3 separate regions of the Homo sapiens genome follow, and regions 1 and 2 are each linked to region 3. The links are contacts of gene promoters, found by promoter capture Hi-C in blood cells and fetal thymus (Javierre and others, 2016). All regions are on one chromosome and are shown on one strand. Each heading gives the region's core, a stretch centred on a gene start or on the middle of the fragment in contact. The rest is flanking DNA. Distances are from core to core; before and after follow the strand shown.

Region 1 (3,512 bases), core at 401-2,900, 2.1 Mb after region 3:
TTCACCATGTTGGCCAGGCTGGTCTCGAACTCCTGACCTTGTGATCCACCCACCTCGGTCTCCCAAAAGTACTGGGATTACAGTCATGAGCCACTGCGCTAGGCCACCACATTTAATCTTTACAAAAACTCTTATGAGATGAGGACTACGACTAACCCTATTTTACAGCTGAGGAAACTGAAGTTTGCCTTGAGGCAGTTATTAAACAATAACTTATCCATGTTCACACACCTAGTAAGAGGAGGAGCTAGGATTTGAATTAGGTCAAATTCCAGAGCTATCCAACATATGTAATACCTCCCAATGCTATGTTTTGTCAAAAAGTTAGAAATTCCTTGATCTGGGGAGAAATAGTGTCTCAGCAGGGGCTTACTCTTTGTGGATATCATTAGAAGGGCATAACTAACAGTCAAGCTTCATCTAGGCAGAAAGCTATTTGCAACAAAAAGACTTTCCTGGATAACAAGAACCCCCTACCTATCCTTGTTTAAAGGACAAAAATAAGTATCTTTTTTTTTTTTTTTTTTTGAGACAGTGTCACGCTCTGTCGCCCAAGCTGGAGCACAGTGGCTGATGTCGGCTCACTGCAACCTCTGCCTCCTGGGTTCAAGCAATTCTCCTGCCTCAGCCTCCCACGTAGCTGGGACTACAGGTGCGTGCCACCATGGCCAGCTAATTTTTGTATTTTTAACAGAGATGGGGTTTCACTGTGTTGCCCAGGCTGGTCTCGATCTCTTGACCTCATGATCCCCCTGCTTTGGCTTCCCAAAGTGCTGGGATTACAGGCGTGAGCCACCGTGCCCGGCAAGTATCTTCTTGAATGAGGACAAACAGCTGGCTCTATCCAGATGGGCATGAGAAGCTAGACTTTCCATACCCTCTCTAAACCCTGAAATTTTACCTTTTGGCTTTCTAAGAGGTTAAAGAAGAAAAGACAATATAAGAATCTACTGAGAACAGGCATGGTGGCTCACACATTTAATCCCAGCACTTTGGGAGGCCGAGGTGGGCAGATCACTTGAGGTCAGGAGTTCGAGACCAGCCTGACCAACATGGTGAAACCCTGTCTCTACTAAAAATACAAAAAAAATTAGGCAGGCATGGTGGCAGGTGCCTGTAATCCCAGCTACTTGGGAGGCTGAGACAGGAGAATCACTTGAAGCCAGGAGGCAGAGGCTGCAGTGAACTGAGATTGCACCACTGCACTCCAGCCTGGGTGACAGAGAGAGACTGGAATCCACTGGAGACAAGATGAGAATCCAATGGAAAAGAAGGGTGATAATAAGAACCACTAATACTTACATGTAAAATCAGAACAGCAAAGATGTGGGCAAAAAAGACTGGGCTAAATGATGATGACATATAAAGGTTAAAATCCCAATAGATAAGAATATTTAAAATACAAGTAGGTCACAATCAAATATCAGTTTTGTTTGTTTTTTCATTAAAAAAACTAGAGGTTCAGGGACTGAAAAGAACATTCAAAAGGGGAATGAGCCGGGTGCAGTGGCTCACGCCTGTAATCCCAGCACTTTGGGAGGCCAAGGTAGGCGCATCACGAGGTCAGGAGATCAAGATCATCCTGGCTAACACAGTGAAACCCGGTGTCTGCTAAAAATACAAAAAATTAGCTGGGCGTGGTGGCATGCGCCTGTACGCCCAGCTACTTGGGAGACTGAGGCAGGAGAATCGCTTGAACCCAGGAGGCGGACGTTGCAATGAGCCAAGGTCGTGTCACTGCACTCCAGCCTGGCGACAGAGCAAGACTCCATCTCAAAAAACAAAACAAAACAAAAAGGGGGCAGGGGGGAATTATTACAAACAGGATGGGAGATATTTAAAAAAACAACAACAGATCTGGCCATAGAAGAAACAAGAACTTCTGTATTTCTCAGAACTTGTCTAAAGAGAGGAGGTATGCAGAGCACATTCTTTTTGTTCGAGAATAAAGACTATACAATTAGTTTGAACTTCTGTTATGTTTTTTAATTAGGACATGGAAAGGAATATAGGGTAAGGTCAATAAGCCTCACTGTTTTTGATCTCAATGAAAAATTCTAGGGCCAGGCGCAGTGGCTCACGCCTGTAATCCCAGCATTTTGGGAAGCTGAGGGAGGCGGATCACAAGGTCAGGAGTTCGAGACCAGCCTGGCTAACACAGTGAAACCCTGTCTCTACTAAAAATACAAAAAATTAGCCAGGTATGGTGGCGGGCGCCTGTGGTACCAGCTACTCAGGAGGCTGAGGCAGGAGAATGGCATGAACCCGGGAGGTGGAGCTTGCAGTGAGCCGAGATCCTGCCACTGCACTCCATCCTGGGCAACAGAGCGAGACTCTGTCTCAAAAAAAAAAAAAAAAAAAAAGAAAAATTCTAAAAAATATTAATTTCATTACCTAATACACTAATGTTATTATAATTTTTAGAAATTAACCCAGCCTGGGCAATATAGTGAGACCCCGACTCTACAAAAAAATAAAAAAAGTTGGCCAGGTACAGTGGTATGTGCTTGTAGCACTAGGTGCTTGGGAGGATGAGGTGGGAGGATCATTTAGTTGAGGAGTTTGAGGTTGCAGTGAGCTATGAAAGCACCACTGCACTCCAGCCTAGGTGACAGAGTTGAGATACACCGTTTCAAGAAAGAAATTAAGCTCAAAACTTATGTGTTCTAAGACCTTTTCTAGGTCTCATCTGCTAATATGAAAATGGTTCAATTAACTAACACAAATTTCAACATGATTGTCATCAACATAAATCCTCAGAAATTGTTGCCTTCTCAGAACGATGTTTTTGCCTATAGACTAGCCTGAAAGGCTAAATATCTTAACGACTTTTCCAAATAATTCTCACTCCAAAATTTAAAAGATATGTAAATGAAATAAGCTTTCCCCAAAAGTGTGCTCAATCTGTGCTTAAAAAGGTTTAAATGTGGGTCTGTACACTGGGCTGTATTTTGAATCTTACCATAAATTATCACCCTTTGTGATGTGTGCTCTTATTTTATAGGTTTGCACTGGCAGAGCTAAAATACAAATGGCTGTTTCCATCTAGAAACAAAGTAAAATTTATTTACACAAAATTTACAATAAGCTTCTACAATGCTGATACCATGGTTCTAGGAAGTTAATGCTAATGCCACAGTTACAAGAGATCTAGAGCGCTAGGCTACTAAGATATTTTGTTAACAGAAACAGAACAGTATGCTGTCTTAGGTTGCACCTTCCCAGAAGGAGACCCCAAGACAAAGATTAGAGAAAAAGTAGTTTATTCAGGAGCGAATCTCACAAAGCTACAGTAGGGGACAGAAGAAGTGGGACACAGAAGGGAAGGAAGCCTTAGAGGTACGTTTATGAGCAGGTTACAGCTGTGGGTATTGGGCTCCGGAAGACTAAACAGAATGTGCTTGAAAGTTGTCCTACTTGAGGAAGCTGCCATATTTATCTACCAACTCTTACATATCACTGAGGGCTCCTCCTAGAGCTGTGAACTCAACACCAGCCTGTCTCACCTGAGT
Region 2 (3,102 bases), core at 83-2,582, 2.0 Mb after region 3:
CCAGGTCCATGTAATATGGATTCAATAAATGTTAGCTATCTTGAAATTGCATTCCTCATTTAGACTCTAAGTTGTTTGAAGGCAGAAATGGATCTTCCGAACATAGCTCTCAGTTCACCCTCGAGAAATGTTCATTGAGTCAGTTAAGAGGCCTGGGGCCAAACTGCTGCGGACCTGTTTTCACATTTGTCAAATGTCTGGATTGCACTTCAGATATTTAAAGTCTGTATGACTCCTAACATTCATTCATTCATCAAATATTTGTTGACAACCTATTATGTGCCACTCACTCTGCTAGACAACGGGGGAAGGGACAGGCTGGAGGAGCCCGTGAGGTAGCAGGGCCAGACCACCAGTTTGGAGCCAGACAGGCCCGGCTGTGTGAATTCTTGCTGTCACAAGTCAAAAACAGTTGTGTAAGCCACTTGATTTCTCTGAACCTCAGCTTCTCTATGGGCAAAAGGGGATGGGTATATTTTCCCCAGAGATCTGTGATGAATATTGAAAGGGTTAAGCTGTGTAGTGTCCCAAGCACAAGCCAATGAAATGTTGGTGGACGTCCTCATTCTACTCCCACCTCCTCAGCTCCCTTACAGGGAAAGGAGATACGCGTGTAGGTAAATATCCTATGCGCCAAGTCAGACCTAGGAGTGGGAACAGAATTCACAGCTGGGATCCAGAAGCATTTCTAGGCGCACCCTTTGAGGAGTAGGTAGGAATTGGACTCCTGGAAATTCCAGGCCCAGGGAAGAAAGCGAATTGTGAGGAGGAACGGTGGTCTGGGTCTGAACGGCTCTGAGAGGTCTTCAAGTTTGGGGGATGACGTTGGGCTGTACGATCCTAGGAACAAGAGGGTGGACATCTCCCCCCAACCAACACACCCGCGCCGGGCCCTGGGACCTCCCGGCGGATACCCTTTCCCAGTCCCGCTTCCCGCGAGGTCCCAGGTGCAGCAGGAGCGGGTGGCCGCTTGGCCACAGGAGGGCAGCAGCGGCCCTTCCTGACCCCACCCCGAGCACCTCTTAACTTTCCCGACGCCGGTCCTCCCCTAGGGGATTGAAGGCTGGGCAGAGTCTGAGTCCACCCGGGTCGTGCTCCCCCCGCTCGCCCGGCTCCTCCGCAGTCCAGGAATCTCCCCGTGGCTCTCCCCGACCTGGAGGGGTGGACGCCCCTGGCCCCCAGTCCCCGGCCTGCGGAGGGGGCCGGTGGCTGCGGCCCTGCGCGGGGCCGGGGCGGGCCGAGCCAAGGGCCGCCCCCGGCCGACCCTCCCCCTGCCGGGCCCGCCCTCCCCGCCGCGGCGCTGGAGGAGGGCGGGGCGGGGCCCTGGGGTCAGTCTGAGCCTCCGGCACCGGCCGCGCAGCTGGAGGCGGCGGAGCGGAAGGTACCCTGGGCCGGGGCTGCGGGCGGTGGGGCGTCTTGGGAACTCGTCCCCAGGAGAGCACTTTCCCTTCCTCGCTGGCCCGGAGATCGGGGCCCGTGCGAGGAGGGGCTTCGGCCTGGGCGTGGACCCCGTTCCCTCCAAGCGGAGTCGGCATCCGGGCTGGGCGGTGGTCGGACCGCGTCGGCCCCTCCCCGGGCTGCAGCGAGGGGGCCCGGACCTGCCGGCAGGGGCTCTGGCCTCCTGAGGTCCGAGTCGGAGCCCCTTCCCTTCTCCTCCCAGCTTCCCGGAACCTGCCCCGCCGGGCGAGGGGCGAGGGAACTTCAACTCAGACGCCCCAGCCCCCAGGGTGGGCGGCCGCAGGGGACCTAGAGTGGGATGGGGTGGGAATTCCTCCAGGCCAGGAGGGAGGTATGGCGGGAATAGGGGCGGGATGTGACCATTGGGGCCTGCCACTGCTCGGCAGGGTCTGGACGCCGCCCTGGACGGTTCCTGGAGCCCGCTTGTGTTGAGGATAAGGGAGATGGGGAAGGATCCAACTCTGTGTGTGTGTGTGTGTGTGTGTGTGTGTGTGTGTGTGTGTGTGTGTGTGTGTGTGTGTGTGTGTGTGTGTGTGGTGTGTGTGTGTGTGTGTGTGTGTGTGTGTGTGTAGAGAGAGAGAGAGAGAGAGAAAATGAGATTGAGAATCCTCCTTCTTCATACTCGAACCAAGAAAGAGTATCCTGGGGTTTGGGACTGGGATCCCGAGGCCGAGTCCCGCCCTCACTCTGGTTTTAAAGTTGAGAATGCAGTATCTCTTGGTATCTCCAGAACGGATTCCTTCCCTAGGTGTAGGGTGGGCCGGCAAAGTCAACCGGCCGCTCTGGATCATCTGGGAATTCAAGAGAGCGATTGGAGAGAGGTCTGATGTAGCCACACTGTCTTGTCTTGGGGAAGGCCCCAGAAGTTCCAGGCTCCATTCCAGGCCCTGTGTGGGGCTCAGTTGCCCCTCTTAAGGGGTCAGTGGGACAGTCCCTCTGGGGCTGCCTCTCACAGGGAGTTGTCCATGCCATCTTGGCCTTGGGCCTAGTGTCCTGGCCTGGGCTGCCTGCTGTTCTGGCCCAATCATAGCCTGGAGGGAAAGTCTTCTAATTGGGCTGGAGGCTCCAGGTCCCTTAACGCATGCCTCAACCCCGGGTTTCTGTCCTCTGCCTCCCACCACTCTGGTGCCGTCTGAATTACCCTGCTGGGGGGACAGCAGTGGCATACTCATGCCTAAGTGACTGGCTTTCACCCCAGTAGTGATTGCCCTCCATCAACACTGCCCACCCCAGGTTGGGGCTACCCCAGCCCATCTTTACAAAACAGGGCAAGGTGAACTAATGGAGTGGGTGGAGGAGTTGGAAGAAATCCCAGCGTCAGTCACCGGGATAGAATTCCCAAGGAACCCTCTTTTTGGAGGATGGTTTCCATTTCTGGAGGCGATCTGCCGACAGGGTGAATGCCTTCTTGCTTGTCTTCTGGGGAATCAGAGAGAGTCCGTTTTGTGGTGGGAAGAGTGTGGCTGTGTACTTTGAACTCCTGTAAATTCTCTGACTCATGTCCACAAAACCAACAGTTTTGTGAATGTGTCTGGAGGCAAGGGAAGGGCCACTCAGGATCTATGTTGAAGGGAAGAGGCCTGGGGCTGGAGTATTCGCTTCCTAAAGGGCAGTGTGAGGTGGTGGTGGGGTGTGGGGAGTAGA
Region 3 (3,433 bases), core at 1-2,500:
GTTATGTTTAAAAAAATAAATAAATTTAAGAAAACCATTTTAAATAATGCACAGTTGCAGCCTGGAAAAACTTAAGGTGGCGCCTTATAGTATCAATTTTAGGAGCTTTATTTGGTGCATTTAACGCAACTGGTAATTGCAGAATCCACTTTGCCTGTGTAAGTGAAAAATATAGACTGTTATCTTGTTGGCCCTATGAAATTCTGCACTTTTCATTATATACTCTACCTTCATTAATTACTTCTGGCAAGATGTTCTGCCTTAGCACTCAGTTGCATTCTTTTCCTTTTTCTTCCTGTTCATTATGCTTTAATTCTGAGGACCATATGAGGGTAGAATATATTATCTTTTAAAAATTACAAAAATTTGTATAGGCAAACCATTTCTTAAAGTTGATGGCCAAATTTTAAAATGTTATTTTTCATATCATTTATAATCTTGTCACAATCCACTTAAAGAAGTTTGGTTATATTTCAGTGAAAATTTTCTTCCAGAGTAGGTTTTTTTTCGTGGGTTGGGGGGTAACTTTACTACAATTAGTAAGTATGGTGCAGAATTTCATGCAAATGAGGAGTGCCAGCAGTGTGATAATTTAAACATATTTAAACAAAAACAAAAAAAATGAATGCACAAACTTGCTGCTGCTTAGATCACTGCAGCTTCTAGGACCCGGTTTCTTTTACTGATTTAAAAACAAAACAAAAAAAAATAAAAAAGTTGTGCCTGAAATGAATCTTGTTTTTTTTTATAAGTAGCCGCCTGGTTACTGTGTCCTGTAAAATACAGACACTTGACCCTTGGTGTAGCTTCTGTTCAACTTTATATCACGGGAATGGATGGGTCTGATTTCTTGGCCCTCTTCTTGAATTGGCCATATACAGGGTCCCTGGCCAGTGGACTGAAGGCTTTGTCTAAGATGACAAGGGTCAGCTCAGGGGATGTGGGGGAGGGCGGTTTTATCTTCCCCCTTGTCGTTTGAGGTTTTGATCTCTGGGTAAAGAGGCCGTTTATCTTTGTAAACACGAAACATTTTTGCTTTCTCCAGTTTTCTGTTAATGGCGAAAGAATGGAAGCGAATAAAGTTTTACTGATTTTTGAGACACTAGCACCTAGCGCTTTCATTATTGAAACGTCCCGTGTGGGAGGGGCGGGTCTGGGTGCGGCCTGCCGCATGACTCGTGGTTCGGAGGCCCACGTGGCCGGGGCGGGGACTCAGGCGCCTGGGGCGCCGACTGATTACGTAGCGGGCGGGGCCGGAAGTGCCGCTCCTTGGTGGGGGCTGTTCATGGCGGTTCCGGGGTCTCCAACATTTTTCCCGGCTGTGGTCCTAAATCTGTCCAAAGCAGAGGCAGTGGAGCTTGAGGTAAGTTTATCTCATGCATAGTGTTCGGCTTTGGGCTGTGGAATGTTCAGGCGTTTCACTGATGCCAGAAATGGAGCAGAATCTATCAGCTGGAGACAAAGGCCTTGGGCGGGGGTCCTTCCATTTGGTGCCTACGTGGGGAGATCTTTGGAGACAGAAGGGAGAATGGGAAGGAGTTGCGGCCTGGAGGCTTCCTGCTAGAGCTGAGAAGCCTTCGGGGAGTAATAGGAAGGGGGATTTCCATTGCTTAGGCTGAGGGCGGGGCCCAAGGACTGTTGAAAAATAGCTAAGGATGGGGGTTGCTAGAAAACTACTCCAGAAGTGTGAGGCCGATATTAATCCGGTGTTTTTGCGTTCTCTAGTCACTTTAAGAACCAAATGGAAGGTCACACTAGGGTTTTCATTTCCATTGATTATAGAAAGCTTTAAAGTACTGTAGATGTGGCTCGCCAATTAACCCTGATTACTGGTTTCCAACAGGTTCTTGCTGGTGTGAAATGACTGAGTACAAACTGGTGGTGGTTGGAGCAGGTGGTGTTGGGAAAAGCGCACTGACAATCCAGCTAATCCAGAACCACTTTGTAGATGAATATGATCCCACCATAGAGGTGAGGCCCAGTGGTAGCCCGCTGACCTGATCCTGTCTCTCACTTGTCGGATCATCTTTACCCATATTCTGTATTAAAGGAATAAGAGGAGAGAAAGTAAAAAGTTATTTTGGGTATACATTCAGTTATGCAATAAGCTTAACGTGTTTATAGAGAACAGTTCATTTTTATTAGCTGCTGAAGTTTCTAAAACCTGTCCAGTTTTTAACAGTTCTGTAAACTATTGCAAACTCAGTGTTGAGTTCATTCATGAGTTTCTTCATATATAACAGCTCTATTACATGAGAAACACAGGCCATAGTAGCGAGACTGTCTGATTGTATGGGAGATAATAGGATGGAGATAAAGGATTCAGAGATGAGTGTTCTTCAATATTTATTTATTAGCTAGTTGAAGCAGCTGAGACCAGATGATTGGAGTAGCAAGAACTTGAGATTTTTAGTCTTTATGCCTAGGATTTTGGTCCCTGTTTGCAGTTTATTTAGTTGTGTGATATTGAGCAACTGAATCTCTCCCAACCTCATTTTCCTCATGTTTTAAATTACCATAAACTTGTCCTGCCTACCACACAGGGATGTTATGGAAAGTTAAATAATATATTTAAGTTATTTATGAATGGTAAAGCACTATGTAATAGTACTTAGGGATTCTATTGTTATTATGAGAGTTCATGGTACAGATTGTCTTCAGTAAGTGGCACCTAAGGCTCTTTAAATAAAGGGTTTTGCCGGACACGGTGGCTCACGCCTGTAATCCCAGCACTTTGGGAGGCTGAGGCAGGCGGATCACAAGGTCAGGAGTTCAAGACCAGCCTGATCAACATGGTGAAACCCCGTCTCTACTAAAAATACAAAAATTAGCTGGGTGTGGTGGCAGGCACCTGTAATCCCAGCTACTCAGGAGGCTGAGGCAGGAGAATCGCTTGAACCAGAGGCAGAGGGTGCAGTGAGCCGAGATCACACCACAGACCTCCAGCCTGGGCAACAGAGCGAGACTTCGTCTCAAAAAATAAATAAATAGATAAATAAATAAAGGGTTTTGTAATTTTGTTCAGTTTAGAAATGCCTAACTTTAGAGATTATTTTAATCAACACCTGGCCTCCCTACCATCTGGCTACTCGTGTTTAATTGATGAAAACTAACTCTAATGTAGCCACTATAAAAAATTGGTTGCTAACCCTTGGCAAAATCTTTATTTTGAGCTTAACAGCTTTAATATTTTACATGAAATGTTTAATATTTTAATTAAATATTTTTAAATGTTTGATTTATTGAGCAATTTACATAAGTAAAATACATAAATTTTATGTCTACAGCCCAGTGCTTTTTGCGTTTCTATATAGTCATGTAGCTACCACCCAGATAACAGTATAGAGCACTTCCAGTACTCCAGAGAGTTCTCCAAGTGTGATGACATTAAAATACAAGTAAAAGTCCTGTTGCCATAAAACCAAAATGAAAG

The links. The method cuts DNA at HindIII sites, captures the fragments that hold promoters and counts their contacts. A CHiCAGO score of 5 or more calls a contact.
Region 1: a fragment that was not itself captured here is called in contact with the fragment with the promoter of NRAS in region 3 in 1 of 17 cell types (monocytes); the score reaches 5.4 in monocytes.
Region 2: the fragment with the promoter of RHOC here is called in contact with the fragment with the promoter of NRAS in region 3 in 2 of 17 cell types (activated CD4 T cells and total B cells); the score reaches 7.0 in activated CD4 T cells.

The regions. Positions count from the first base shown.
Region 1 is chr1:112,661,247-112,664,758 of GRCh38, reverse strand. The region is part of intron 7 of CAPZA1 (capping actin protein of muscle Z-line subunit alpha 1); the gene reads right to left. Among named protein-coding and RNA genes, the nearest start is that of MOV10, 12 kb to the left of the region's middle. The HindIII fragment of the contact is 2,467 bases long and covers 417-2,883 here.
Region 2 is chr1:112,705,357-112,708,458 of GRCh38, reverse strand. RHOC (ras homolog family member C) reads left to right here and starts at 1,332. Exons shown (of 6, transcript NM_175744.5): 1 at 1,332-1,381. RefSeq lists a silencer at 893-1,612 and an enhancer at 2,872-2,921. The HindIII fragment of the contact is 12,151 bases long and covers 1-3,102 here.
Region 3 is chr1:114,714,588-114,718,020 of GRCh38, reverse strand. It overlaps NRAS (NRAS proto-oncogene, GTPase), which reads left to right and starts at 1,250. Exons shown (of 7, transcript NM_002524.5): 1 at 1,250-1,363; 2 at 1,844-1,971. The coding sequence starts at 1,861. It overlaps CSDE1 (cold shock domain containing E1), which reads left to right. Exons shown (of 20, transcript NM_001007553.3): 20 at 1-1,105. RefSeq lists enhancers at 1,245-1,444, 1,455-1,554. The HindIII fragment of the contact is 3,751 bases long and covers 1-1,788 here.